Linked DNA regions of Homo sapiens: all the other regions are linked to region 1. Evidence: promoter capture Hi-C in 16 types of primary human blood cells and fetal thymus (Javierre and others, 2016). All regions are on one chromosome and are shown on one strand. Each heading gives the region's core, a stretch centred on a gene start or on the middle of the fragment in contact. The rest is flanking DNA. Distances are from core to core; before and after follow the strand shown.

Region 1 (4,262 bases), core at 839-3,338:
CATTCTAAGCACATAAAAGCCTCAGATGCAGCCAAACTCACTCACTGGGGGGACCTGCCTGCAGAAAGGAGCTACTGACTTCAGGTCTCCTGAGAGCTGTTTTCTTGCTTAATAAAGCTCCTCTGCACCTTGCTCACCCTCTAGTTGTCCTCTAGTATCCTCATTCTTCCTGGACGCAGGATGAGAACTTGGGACCCACCGAACAGGGGGAGCTAAAGGTGCTGTAACATGTTCCTGGCTCATTTGCCAAGCTGTGGGTGGTGACATGCTCCCGGACTATGGGAGTAAAAAGTGGTGACCCTCCTGGTGGCCCAGACCTCGGGACTCCCCAAGCCAGAGCTGCTGTAACACTATAGCCCTCCCACCCTCTGCCAGTGCTGGGTGGCCACCCAATGGGACAGGAAGCAGAGGTGGGCCAGGCCAGCCCAGGAGCTGCAGGTCAGAGTGGGGTGGTGGGACTGAAAGGGCTGTAACACAAACAGACTGAAACACAAACCCCCAAACTCACCCCCTCATTGGCTGCATTGTGGGTGACGAGAAGGAAAGAAGAGCTTCTTGGAGCCCAGACCTCAGGACTCCCTGAGCCAGGGCTGTGACAGGCTGTAATACCCTCTTTGGGCTCTGCAGTTCCTGGCATCTCTGAGCTTTTGGGTGCCCCCATATTCCCCTCGTCCAGATGCTGGTGCCCATAATGGAAACCACTTGCAGTATGCCTGGTCCAGCTATAGCCTCACATGAAGCTGGTGCCTCTGCTGGCACCTGGAGCTGCCCATCCCACCACAGCAGCAAGTGTGCCTGGCTGTGTGCAGTGGCCAGACCCCTGTGCTTGCTCACTCACACACCTCTCGCCTCTCCCACCCTTGGCAAGCATGGAATCCAGGCTGGTAGCACGAGCCAAGTGCAGCCTGCCAGGCCAAGTGGGTGAAAAGAACCCAGCAGCCATGAGCAAACTCAAGCAGAGGAACCACCAGCCACAGAGGTTTCTGTCTGGAAAAGTGACATCCTAAGGATCCTGTGACAAGATCAGAGAGAGATTATGGCAAATTGAGGAGATGAGGCAAATAGCATCCCTGGATAACAGGAGTTTCTTAGGGGATTGCAGAAGATAAAGATTTTTTTCATGATAATGGAAATAGTTTACAGATAATTCTGAATGTAGGACAGAGATACACTTTATATCTCAGGCACTAAGGAACAGTAAGAAAAGATATATTCGAATTTTTTTAAGAAAACTGGCACAAAAAAGTTGAATACTGAATCATTTGGTATATCAGGGAGTAAGGAAGAGATGGGACATAAAATACCATTGTGAAAATCTAGGTGTAAAATATGAAGAGGTGGGTTTAGGTAAAATCCACAGGAATTGAAGAGACAACACGGAAAAAAAGCAGTTTAAGGAAATTTTTCACCTAATGCAACATCTGTTAGGCTAACGAGGTGAAAGATGGAAGAATCAAAGAGAACTCTTTAAATCTCAATTACAGTCCAGTGGAAAGGCTCAACAAGAAAGGAAAAGGCAAACAATTCCCCAAATTTTGAAACAGAGCTTTACAGGAAGAACACAAAGTGTATAGAAAAAATTGTCCTGATAATTATTCAGTCTATTCTCCAAGCCTCAATTGTTACACACTTGAGGATTGTGGGTAACTGAAATTCCAAAGAACTCCTCTGGTTGAGTAATGGGTGGGGCTGCTGTGTTTCTGGCTGATGTAATAGCACCAAAACTCCAGGCAAGTCTCACCTGAAAATAGGATGCATCTCCCTGATGACACAGCAATAAGAACCTGCCTTTCTACATCTACAGCATGGCAGGGTACATAGAGTAGGAGGGCAGAGGCATCACAATTCTGGAATATTTGCAAAAAATACTCATTGAGAGTAGGATTTATAATCCATATTTTTATTGTCATTATTTAGGGAGTGCATTTCTGCAAATAATTCTTACAGTCCTTTATATACCTCACCAAAACTGCAGATTTTGTATTGAAAGATTCATTATGAAGAAATAAACAGCAAGGAAGCACTAGACTAGAGCAGAACAAAACTGTAAGATGAACTTGTACATCTTTCTCTTGCTTACTGGGTAAGACCAAGGTGGTGTGGCTTGATGGATAATGACATCTCAGGAAAGGGATACAGCTATTTATTCCATTAATGTCAGTTTTGTTGCAAAGGGGATGACTAGCCGCTCTGTGTGTGAGAAGATGACCATGACAACGGAGAACCCCAACCAGACTGTGGTGAGCCACTTCTTCCTGGAGGGTTTGAGGTACACCGCTAAACATTCTAGCCTCTTCTTCCTCCTCTTCCTCCTCATCTACAGCATCACTGTGGCTGGGAATCTCCTCATCCTCCTAACTGTGGGCTCTGACTCTCACCTCAGCTTACCCATGTACCACTTCCTGGGGCACCTCTCCTTCCTGGATGCCTGTTTGTCTACAGTGACAGTGCCCAAGGTCATGGCAGGCCTGCTGACTCTGGATGGGAAGGTGATCTCCTTTGAGGGCTGTGCCGTACAGCTTTATTGCTTCCACTTTCTGGCCAGCACTGAGTGCTTCCTGTACACAGTCATGGCCTATGACCGCTATCTGGCTATCTGTCAACCCCTGCACTACCCAGTGGCCATGAACAGAAGGATGTGTGCAGAAATGGCTGGAATCACCTGGGCCATAGGTGCCACGCACGCTGCAATCCACACCTCCCTCACCTTCCGCCTGCTCTACTGTGGGCCTTGCCACATTGCCTACTTCTTCTGCGACATACCCCCTGTCCTAAAGCTCGCCTGTACAGACACCACCATTAATGAGCTAGTCATGCTTGCCAGCATTGGCATCGTGGCTGCAGGCTGCCTCATCCTCATCGTTATTTCCTACATCTTCATCGTGGCAGCTGTGTTGCGCATCCGCACAGCCCAGGGCCGGCAGCGGGCCTTCTCCCCCTGCACTGCCCAGCTCACTGGGGTGCTCCTGTACTACGTGCCACCTGTCTGTATCTACCTGCAGCCTCGCTCCAGTGAGGCAGGAGCTGGGGCCCCTGCTGTCTTCTACACAATCGTAACTCCAATGCTCAACCCATTCATTTACACTTTGCGGAACAAGGAGGTGAAGCATGCTCTGCAAAGGCTTTTGTGCAGCAGCTTCCGAGAGTCTACAGCAGGCAGCCCACCCCCATAGTCTGTGCTATCAAAACTCACAATTTGCCTGCCAGGAAAGCAACTATTCACATCTCAAATCATTCAGGTGGAAATCAGAATAACTGAGTTGCAACTCAGTCACACACTTTCCCCCAGCTTTGGCCAAATGGTCTACCTCACTCTCTCCCTTGCAAACACTTCATCTAGAAAATGAGGAGGCTGGATTAGATGATGTCTAGAGTCTCTCCAAAATCTATGTTCTATGGTTCAGAGGTATGTGAAATGCTATTCGTATCCTCATTTGTATTAGTAAATGATTGTTTTACTTTTTATGAAATAACTTTATTAAATACATACAGAATACTGTAAACAAAAATATAAAAGGCAATGAAAAAACCTTTGTATACATATTTCCCAGCTTAGAAACCACATTTTTTAAAATGATAAAATACAAGGAGAAAAGTGATTGTCCAAGGTGACTTAGAAAGTCACATTTTCTTTATTCTCCCACTCATGGTAGTATATACTTTAGGCCACATTGAGAGATAGAAATAACATGGGTTTTGGTGTCAATTGAACCTACCAGTATTCTAATACTGATCCAACCAGGTCTAGTTGTAGAATTTTGTACAGATGTCATAATTGCAGTTTTAGTCTCCACTTTTAAGAGTAAGATTTAAAATAATTGCTTTGTAGGATATTATGAGGTCTAAATAAAATAGTTATATTAAGTGTCATGTAAAATAGGCGCTCATGTTTCTTACCAAGCTGGTTGAAGAAATCAAAGAGAGCTTATGATACAAGCTAAGGTTCAAATTGTTTCTGAAAGATTAGCAAGGTTTTAATATCTTCATTGAGTTTATAGGGCAACTACAAAAGAAAGGGCATTTCTAGACTTCAAAATTATAAAAGATAACTCAAGGTTTTAGTTAAACCAGCTTACCATACAAGAGGAAGGAGTTGTGTTGTATTCACCTAACCTATTCTATAAGATGAAAATGTCCTTGAATGCCAACCTAAAGAATTCAGATTATGCCCTAGGCATCCTACCTGTTTACTTTTCCTCCTCCTTGTCATCTATAGAAATACCTTTATCCTGAGAAGCCACTTCTTTAAATGCTAAACCATG
Region 2 (4,262 bases), core at 768-3,267, 240 kb after region 1:
GCCCACCCCTAGAGTTTCTGGTAATAGGTCTGTGCTGGGGCTTGAGAATTTGTACTTCTAACAAGGCTCAGGTACTGATGCTGCAGATCTGGGTTCTTCACTTTGAGAACAACTACCTTTTGGCCAAATGTGATATATGTATTGCAGTAGGTTGAGGTTCAGAATACCTTTGTTTGAGTACTTCTGTGTTGGAAACTAGTAATCTGATCTTTTATAGATAATCACTTAGGTCTGAATATTTTGTTCGCAAAATTAAGAAAGCGTACTTAAAACAACTGAATGCTATATGCCAAATTTGAGGTGAAATATTGATAAGTTCTTCCCCTTGATTTTCTTAATTCTCTTGATAGGGGCTTCACGTTTTGATCAAAATATTACACCTGTATTCTGGGCTTTTGCTGTGAATTCCTAGTATTGCTAAAATTCTGCAATTTCTTAACTACCTGTTAAGTTCCTCAAGGTCAGAGCTTCTGCTTTTTTTATCTTTCTTTGCCCAGCACCTTGAATAGTGTGGGACACGTAATTGACGCTCAGTAGATATTTGTGTATTGAACTCCATCCCTTGTCCTCCTCCCCTCTTGATGTTTTTCTCTACTGGCCTTATGCTACACAGTAAAGCAGGGCATGATTATGCCACTTGATTACCCCCAAGAGATTGGAATAAATGCTTATGCCAAATTCCTACAGCTATCCCTGTGAATGGTTTATTACCCAGGAGCCCTGACACTGGCTGATTTCTGAATTTTCAGTGCTTCTGTAATATATACTAGTTGGGGGAGGAGAAATAGAAAGCTTAAACTCAATGTGCGTTTATTGAATACCTTTTCTACTAAGGGCTCCACAAAGTGGTAGGCACTGGGAATATAAAAATGAATAAGGAGACCCTTGCTCTCGAGGGCAGGGCCCACAGTGGGGAGACAGACGTTAAGCCATGCCCACGACAAGAATGACTTCTGAGATTCCTTCTCTGGATCATGATTTAGTCTTCAGTGGAAACCTGGTACTCCTCAGATTCCTCTGGTTCAACAGGCGGGGATCCCATCCCTTATCATCTCCTCAAATGCTAAAGGACCCTTGAGCAAAGCCAGGAGGAAGTCATCTAGACGTGAAACAGGGAGTATCCACACAGGCTGTGTTAATGACAAAGCTAAAAACATAGTAAATGACTTTTGAATTTACTGCTGTTATGAATTATCTATAGCAACACCTCCGGTCAGCTCTGTTATATATGTTATTGCGTTATTTCCCATTAAATGATGGTTCCTCTGACTATCTGATTGGCATTGACTATGTTTGTTGTAGAGATTGCATACATCTAGTTTAACTCTGGCTGTCAAATGAGAGCAGTTACTCTTATCAGGATGGGTGTCAGGTTTGATGTCCCCTCCTTTTCCTGCTTCAGGTTAATTTGTCATGTTCTGTTTTAAACTGAGACATATAGCTTGACCTCCTTTATTTAGGCCATTAACTGCTCTGGGGTAGTTTTCCTGAAGGTTAAAAAGCCTAGCTTCATGATGGAGGTTAACCAACATGACCATGATGGCCAGGTGTATAAATCTGGCCTCTTAAAAATCTGTATTTGAGGCTGGGTGCAGTGGCTCACACCTGTAATCCTAACACTTTGGGAGGCCAAAGCTGGCAGATCACTTGAGCCCAGGTATTTGAGACCAGCCTGGGCAACATGGCAAGACCCCTTCTCTATAAAAAATTTAAACATTAGCTGGGCATGGTGGCATGTGCTGTAGTCCCAGATACTTAGGAGGCTGGGGTGGGAGGATGGCCTGAACCTGGGAGGCAGAGATTGCAGTGAGTTGTGATCTTGCCACTGCACTCCAGTCTTAGCAACAGAGTAAACCCTATCTCAAAACTTAAAAATCTGTGTTTGGCCCCTAGCCGTCCTCAGCTCTTGAGTAAATCTCAGCATCCTAGGCTGTTACATTATGGCCCAAATATTCAATAGAGATGCTGTATATCCTTGTTCCTCTCAAAACCCCTCCTCATCACCATCAAAAAGCTGGTTCAGTTCTCTACCTTTAGATAAAGAATCATCCCAAGACTCAACATGAGCTGCCGTGACTTGTCCAAGATGACACCTCTTTACAATGTAGAGCAGTGGACAGAACACAGGTCACCCTCCGCCGAAGGCAACTATCTACTGTCTAACATTGCCTCCTAGGCCTGCCATATATAACCATCAAAAACAGTTTAGAATAAAGTGAATTGTTACAATTTTTATTTTTCATTTTTGTGTTTACATTTACTCTCAATGACATGTTTATTCCCACCTAATATCTTGAGGCTAACCACAAAATCTGCAGCATTTCCAGACAGAAGATACTTGTGACTTCCCTGTACTATCCACTACATACTTGACCTCTTTCTCTTTCTTCCTGTCTTCCCTTTCTCTATACCTTATTGTCTTTCTTTGGAACCTCTTGTAACAAATTTTGAGCCATTTCTCCCCTCACTACTCAAATATCACTTTTATGAAGGGGCGGGGGGGAAACTTAGGTGGCAAAAATATTTTACAGAAACAGTTTTAAACATGTTTTGAAGCATACTGGTCACGTGTTAGAAGGCCAAAAGCCAGGGAATTCATTCCCTTTCATTCATTGTGCTGTCTAGGTTAAGTTTTCACAGGACTTCTTGGTACACTGAGTTTGCCTCAGATTGTCTCCTGCCAGTTACAGGGAGTGGAGAGGACTTTGATATATTGGTAATTAGAAGCATTGCTGATATGGTCTTCGGTGGGAGAACCTGTGTCTAAGGTTCCTTCTCATCTGTATTCCAACACTTTCATTTAATCCTACTTCATAAGTGCCTCCAAAGCAAGGATTTTTTTTTTGGTTTAGCATGGTTTCTTTGATATAACAATAGACCGACCAAGATTTTCCTTATGCCATCTGTTTTTTTGTAATTATGATGCAATAGAGAACTGTTTGCTTGTTTATCATTTAAATCTTGCCTTCTTCCCAAAACGATTTCAAATAGCTTGAAGGAAAATGAATAAAATATATTGAGCACCTACCCTATGCCAGACTCTATACTGAAGGGTTTCTATAGGTTATTTCATTTACTCCTTAAAACAACCACATGAGATAAGTAGTATTAGCCACATTTTTGAGGATAAGACTGAGGCTTAGGGAAATTGTGTTACAAGGCTAATAAGCGAGGTCAGGGATTCGAGGTCAGGGATTCAAACCCAGCGTGCCAAGGCCACTAACCATTATGTGGAAAGCTTAGGTAAGCGCTTGTATATAGGACAATCAAGAATAAAAGAATATGTCCATTAGAAGGATTGTACTGGGCTAATCTTTCGTTTTAAAGAACAGCAGCAGCATTGGAAAAGAGCGGTTAACAGTTTTTATTAGCCAATTTCTATTCTAGAACACTGAGAGGAGCTGTTGACAGGCCCTGGTTAGCCCCAGCAAGTAGTTGTATTAAAATTACCAAACTATAGGCCTGCATTAAGGTATAAAATAAGAATGGGGACTGGAAGGGATATAAATATCTGCTAAATATAATAATTTCAGTTCTAATCACTATTTTCTTCTGAAGATTATTTGCCAGTACATAGGCAGATCACTGTCTCTCCTTTAGGTTGATGGTATATGACTACAGACTTTGTCATTTAGGGTCCAGAAAGATCACCCTAGCTAGTAGCGTTTTAAGGTAGAGAACTAGATATTGTTTCATTGCCTGTGGTTTTCTGTTCTTGTAAGAGAATTGAGCTTGGGTCTTCACTGCCACGTGACACCTTCAGATAAGGGGCAGAGACAGCTGGCCTGAGGATTGTACAGAGGTCTTACCTTGATAGCTCCTCTCCAATCCTATGCATCCTAGGAACACTCAAGACACTAGGTTGTATCTTTGCAGATACTGTTTTAGTGTCTTCTGGAACCAAGTCTCTTACTTAATCCTGGCCTGGTTTCATATTCTCTCTATTGTATTCTCTCTATAGTTTTTGTCTTACTCTGGAACTCTTCCAAGGACAGACATTGAAGAAAGGTATTAGAATAGCAAAGGCAACAAATTGCAAGGTATACTTATGGCATAGCACATCCCATTAATTATAGAATAAAAACACAACATCTGTTTTCTGCCTCTAATATTAAATCTTGACATTTGCACAACACATTTTAGTTCATAAAGCTCTCATATCTCAGATAATCACTGAGTTAGGAGACTGGTTATCTGCAGAGGGCTTTATCCTTTACAAGGGCTCTTGGGTACGTTACTTCACGAAACCCTCAGGGAAGCTC
Region 3 (4,262 bases), core at 483-2,982, 170 kb after region 1:
AAATTATAATCTCAAAGGTTCAAGAAGCTCAACAAACCCCCAAGCAAAAGAGATACGGATAAAACTACACCAAACCACATGATAATCAAATTTCTTAAAACCATTGATAAAGAGAAGATCTTAAAGCAGAAAAAAACCCAAAATGGATATATTACATACTAAGAAACAAAGATAGATTAACAGCAGATTTCCTGTGAGAAGCAGTGCAAACCAGAAGATAGTGAAGTAACATCTTTAAAATACTGAAAGAAAAATTTGTTTCACATGTATATATATATATGTAGTTTTCTAAAATATCGCTCTATCTATATGTATATGTGTGTGTGTGTATATATATAAATATATATATATATGCAGAAAGGTTGCTAGAAAATGGAGGAATTTATCAGCTGGAGATCTGGACTTCTATCTATATGTATATGTGTGTGTGTGTACATATATAAATATATATATATGCAGAAAGGTTGCTAGAAAATGGAGGAATTTATCAGCTGGAGATCTGGACCAAGCCATGAAATAAGTGCATAGAAACAGTTGTTTAATTAGAGGAATATAGTTCAAAATTGGTACCCTAGAATTTGACATTTCAGAGATTATTTATATGTAATGGCAAGATCTAATTTACAAAAATGGAGTTGATGACTTAAGAGGAAATAATCATTGGAAATAAGATTAAGATATTCAAATTTTTTAAAGATTTAAATGTAAGAACTCAAACTATAAAATTCCTCAAAGAAAACCTATGAAATGCCCTTCTTGACAACAGCCTTGACAAAGAATTTGTGATTAAGTCCTCAAAAGAAATAGCAACAAAACAAAAATTGACAAGTGGGACCTAATTAAACTAAAGAGCTTCTGCACAGCAAAAGAAACTATCAACAGAGTAAACAGACATCCTACAGAATGGGAGAAAATATTTGCAAACTATGCATCCAACAAAGATCTAATATGTACAATCAATAAGGAACCTAAACAAATTTACAAGCAAAAGACAAACAACCCATTAAAAAAATAATTAAAAGACATGAACCGGCACTTTGCAAAAGAAAACACACAAGTGACCAACAAACATGAAAAAATGCTCAACATTACTAACCATTAGATAAATGCAAATCAAAACCATAAGAAGATACCATCTCATATCAGTCAGAATGGCTATTACTAAAAAGGCAAGAAATAACAGAGGCTGGAGAGGTTGTTGAGAAAAGGGAATGATTATACACCTCTGGTGGGAGTATACATTAGTTCAACCATTGTGGAAAGCAGTTTGGAGATTTCCCAAAGAACTTAAAACAGAATTGCCATTTAATCCAGCAATCCCATTACGGGGTATATACCCAAAGGAATGTAAATCATTCTACCATAAAGACACATGAACAAGTATGTTCACTGCAGCACTATTCACAATAGCAAAGACATGGAATCAACCTAAATGCCCATTAACTGTAGACTGGATTAAAACATGTGGTACATATACCTAATAGAATACTATGCAACTTTAAAAAAGGATGAGACCATGTCGTTTTCAGCAACGTGAATGCAGCTGGAGGCCATTATCCTAAGTGAGTTAATACAGGAACAGAAAACCAAATATTGCCTATTCTCACTTACGAGTGGGAGCTAAACTTTGAGTATATATGGCCACAAAGAAGGGAGCAACAGACACAGAGGCCTACTTGAGATTGGAGGGTGGGAGGGGGGTGAGGATGGAAACACTACTTATTGTGTACTATTTATAATACCTGGGTGACAAAATGATCTGTACACCAAATCCCCATAACATACAATTTACCTACACAACAAGCCTACACATGTACCCATGAACCTAAAATAAAAGTTAAAATAATAAAAAATAACAGATGCCAGTAAGGCTGCAGAGAAAAGGAAATGCTTATATACTGTTGGTGAGATGTAAATTAGTTCAGCCATTGTGGAAAGCAGTTTGGAGATTTCTAAAAGAACTTAAAACGACCATATGACTCTCAAAGAACTTAAAACTACCATATGACCCAGCAATCTCATTACTGAATATATACCTAGAGGAATATAAAATTGTTCTATCAGAAAGACACATGCACACATATGTTCATTGCAGCACTATTCACAATAGCAAAAGACATAGAATCAACCTAGGTGCCCGTCAATGGTGGAATAAAGAAAATGTGGTACATATACACCATGGACTACTACATGGCCATGAGAAAGAATGAAATCATATCCTTTGCAGCAACATGGCTGTAGCCAGAGGCCATTATCCTAAGTGAATTAGCATGGGAACAGAAAACCAAATACCACATGTGTTCACTTATAAGTGGGAGCTAAACATTGGGTACATGTGGACATAAAGATAGGAATAATAGACACTGAGAACTACTAGGGGGGAAAGGAGGGAGGGGTGTGTGGGCTGGAAAACTACCTATTGGGTACTATGCCCATTACCCAAGTGACGGAATCATCCATACCCCAAACCTCAGCATCGTGCAACATACCCATGTAACAAACCTGTATATGTACCCTGAAATCTAAAATAAAAGTTGAGATTATTTTTGAAAAAAAGACATTCAAGTTTTAGGTTGAATATCAACAAAAGCAAATCAAAACAGCTGAGAAAAGCTGTTCACATGAACCACTGAAAGAGTCAATTAAAAAATGACTTCCATAATGGTCTTACTTGAAGGCTCTATAGCAGTTATTTGCTTATTTCTTGAAACTCAGGCAATAAATGGCGGAATCAAAGAAAATTTATAAGATGGTATACTAGAAAAATAAAAAAGATTGTATGCTATGAGCCTCGGAGGAGTTTTATCAGAAACCAGAGAAATAATTTCTTATTGAAAGCAGAAATTGGGAGCAAAATAACAAAAACAACAAATTATTATATTATCATAAAATTAATAATATAGTATAAATATACTATATACTTATATAACAAATTTATATATAAAAGTATAAACACATTGTACACTTATGTAATGTATGTCATATAGCATATCACATAATATATAATTGATAGAATATAAATATAAAACTACATAATATTTTTATATTGTTATAATGTCCCTGCAGCTATGTAACTCTATCGCTCTTGTACATGGAAAGAAGGATGTGCGTTCAACTCAGTGGAACCAGTGTCCTCAAGTGAAAGTCAGGTTACTGTTAAGGTTTAAAAAAAAAAAAGAGGGTTTTTTAGTTAAGTAAAAAATGTTTGAAAGAATTTTCATTAAAAAAAATCAAAGAATACAGTGGAAACTTATGGAAAGTTTGTAGCCATAAGAGATAGGTCAAGAGCATGGAAGAACAGAGTTGTACAAGGCTGACTTCTGTACAAGAGCCCATCTTTTTACAATTTTTCTATTTTTAATTTTCGTGGGTACATAGTAGGTGTATATATTTATGGGGTACATGAGGTGTTTTGATAATGGCACGATGTGATTATTACACAACGGCTCATCTTTTTCAACAGGGAAAGGACAGGGAGGAAAAACATTGTGGAATTTACTATGACCCTATTTTCAACTGGAACTTTTTAAAAAATTATGCTAACGTAGACAGAGAGAGGTAGTACATAGTATCTGAAACTCTAGAATATTTACTGTTGTAGAATATTTCTGATTATATCAATAAACTTAAGAAGGATGAAAAGTGTTCCATGCTTTTAGCTTCCTTATAGATTATTTTTAAGGTATTCTTTTCTCTTTAAATGGAAGAAGCAAAATGTCTGGGAAAATCCCCAAGGAATCCCTAACTGCTCTACTTGTAGACAGTCTAAAACTTTCTGATTAGGAAGTTCAGAACCAACATTCTTTTATAACAATATTAATTAACTTCTTTTGACCCATATCCCCAAGAGCTGTTCTCATCTAAATCTCTAAGGCAAATAAACCCATGAAAAAAACATAATTCATCCACTTACTTAACAAAAACTGACAGAAGAAAGGAAGGGAAGCTTTACTCTATTGAGAAAAGGAAAGAAGTAGTTAAAAAAAATTAAAGTCACCTTTAATCTGGTGAAACATTTATAACATTCAAGATCATTGAGTAAAAGCTTCAATGGAAGGATAGTCTAATAGTCATGAAGGTAAAATGAAACACCAAAAACTTTACTGAGTTCCCTTCACTGAGCCATCCCTTGGTAAGTATGCTTAAGAAGAAATCCATTTAGCCACATCTAGATGAGTTGCTTGTATGAAATTCTATATTCAAAAAACTCAGTTACTGAATAATTGAAATAATTGAAAATTAAGCAAAAAGACAAAATATAG

What was found. Contacts are between HindIII fragments. The CHiCAGO score rates a contact against its expected background, and 5 or more counts as called.
Region 2: a contact is called between a fragment that was not itself captured here and the fragment with the promoter of OR10S1 in region 1, in 1 of 17 cell types (endothelial precursors). The highest score is 5.3, in endothelial precursors.
Region 3: a fragment that was not itself captured here is called in contact with the fragment with the promoter of OR10S1 in region 1 in 1 of 17 cell types (neutrophils); the score reaches 5.2 in neutrophils.

Annotation. Positions count from the first base shown.
Region 1 is chr11:123,975,607-123,979,868 of GRCh38, reverse strand. OR10S1 (olfactory receptor family 10 subfamily S member 1) reads left to right here and starts at 2,088. Exons shown (of 1, transcript NM_001004474.2): 1 at 2,088-3,208. The coding sequence starts at 2,205. The coding sequence ends at 3,173. The HindIII fragment of the contact is 7,911 bases long and covers 1-4,262 here.
Region 2 is chr11:123,735,632-123,739,893 of GRCh38, reverse strand. All of the region lies in intron 3 of ZNF202 (zinc finger protein 202), which reads left to right. Among named protein-coding and RNA genes, the nearest start is that of ZNF202, 3.9 kb to the left of the region's middle. The HindIII fragment of the contact is 2,446 bases long and covers 795-3,240 here.
Region 3 is chr11:123,810,100-123,814,361 of GRCh38, reverse strand. All of the region lies in intron 2 of LOC105369544 (a long non-coding RNA gene), which reads right to left. Among named protein-coding and RNA genes, the nearest start is that of OR6M1, 5.9 kb to the right of the region's middle. The HindIII fragment of the contact is 4,432 bases long and covers 1-3,948 here.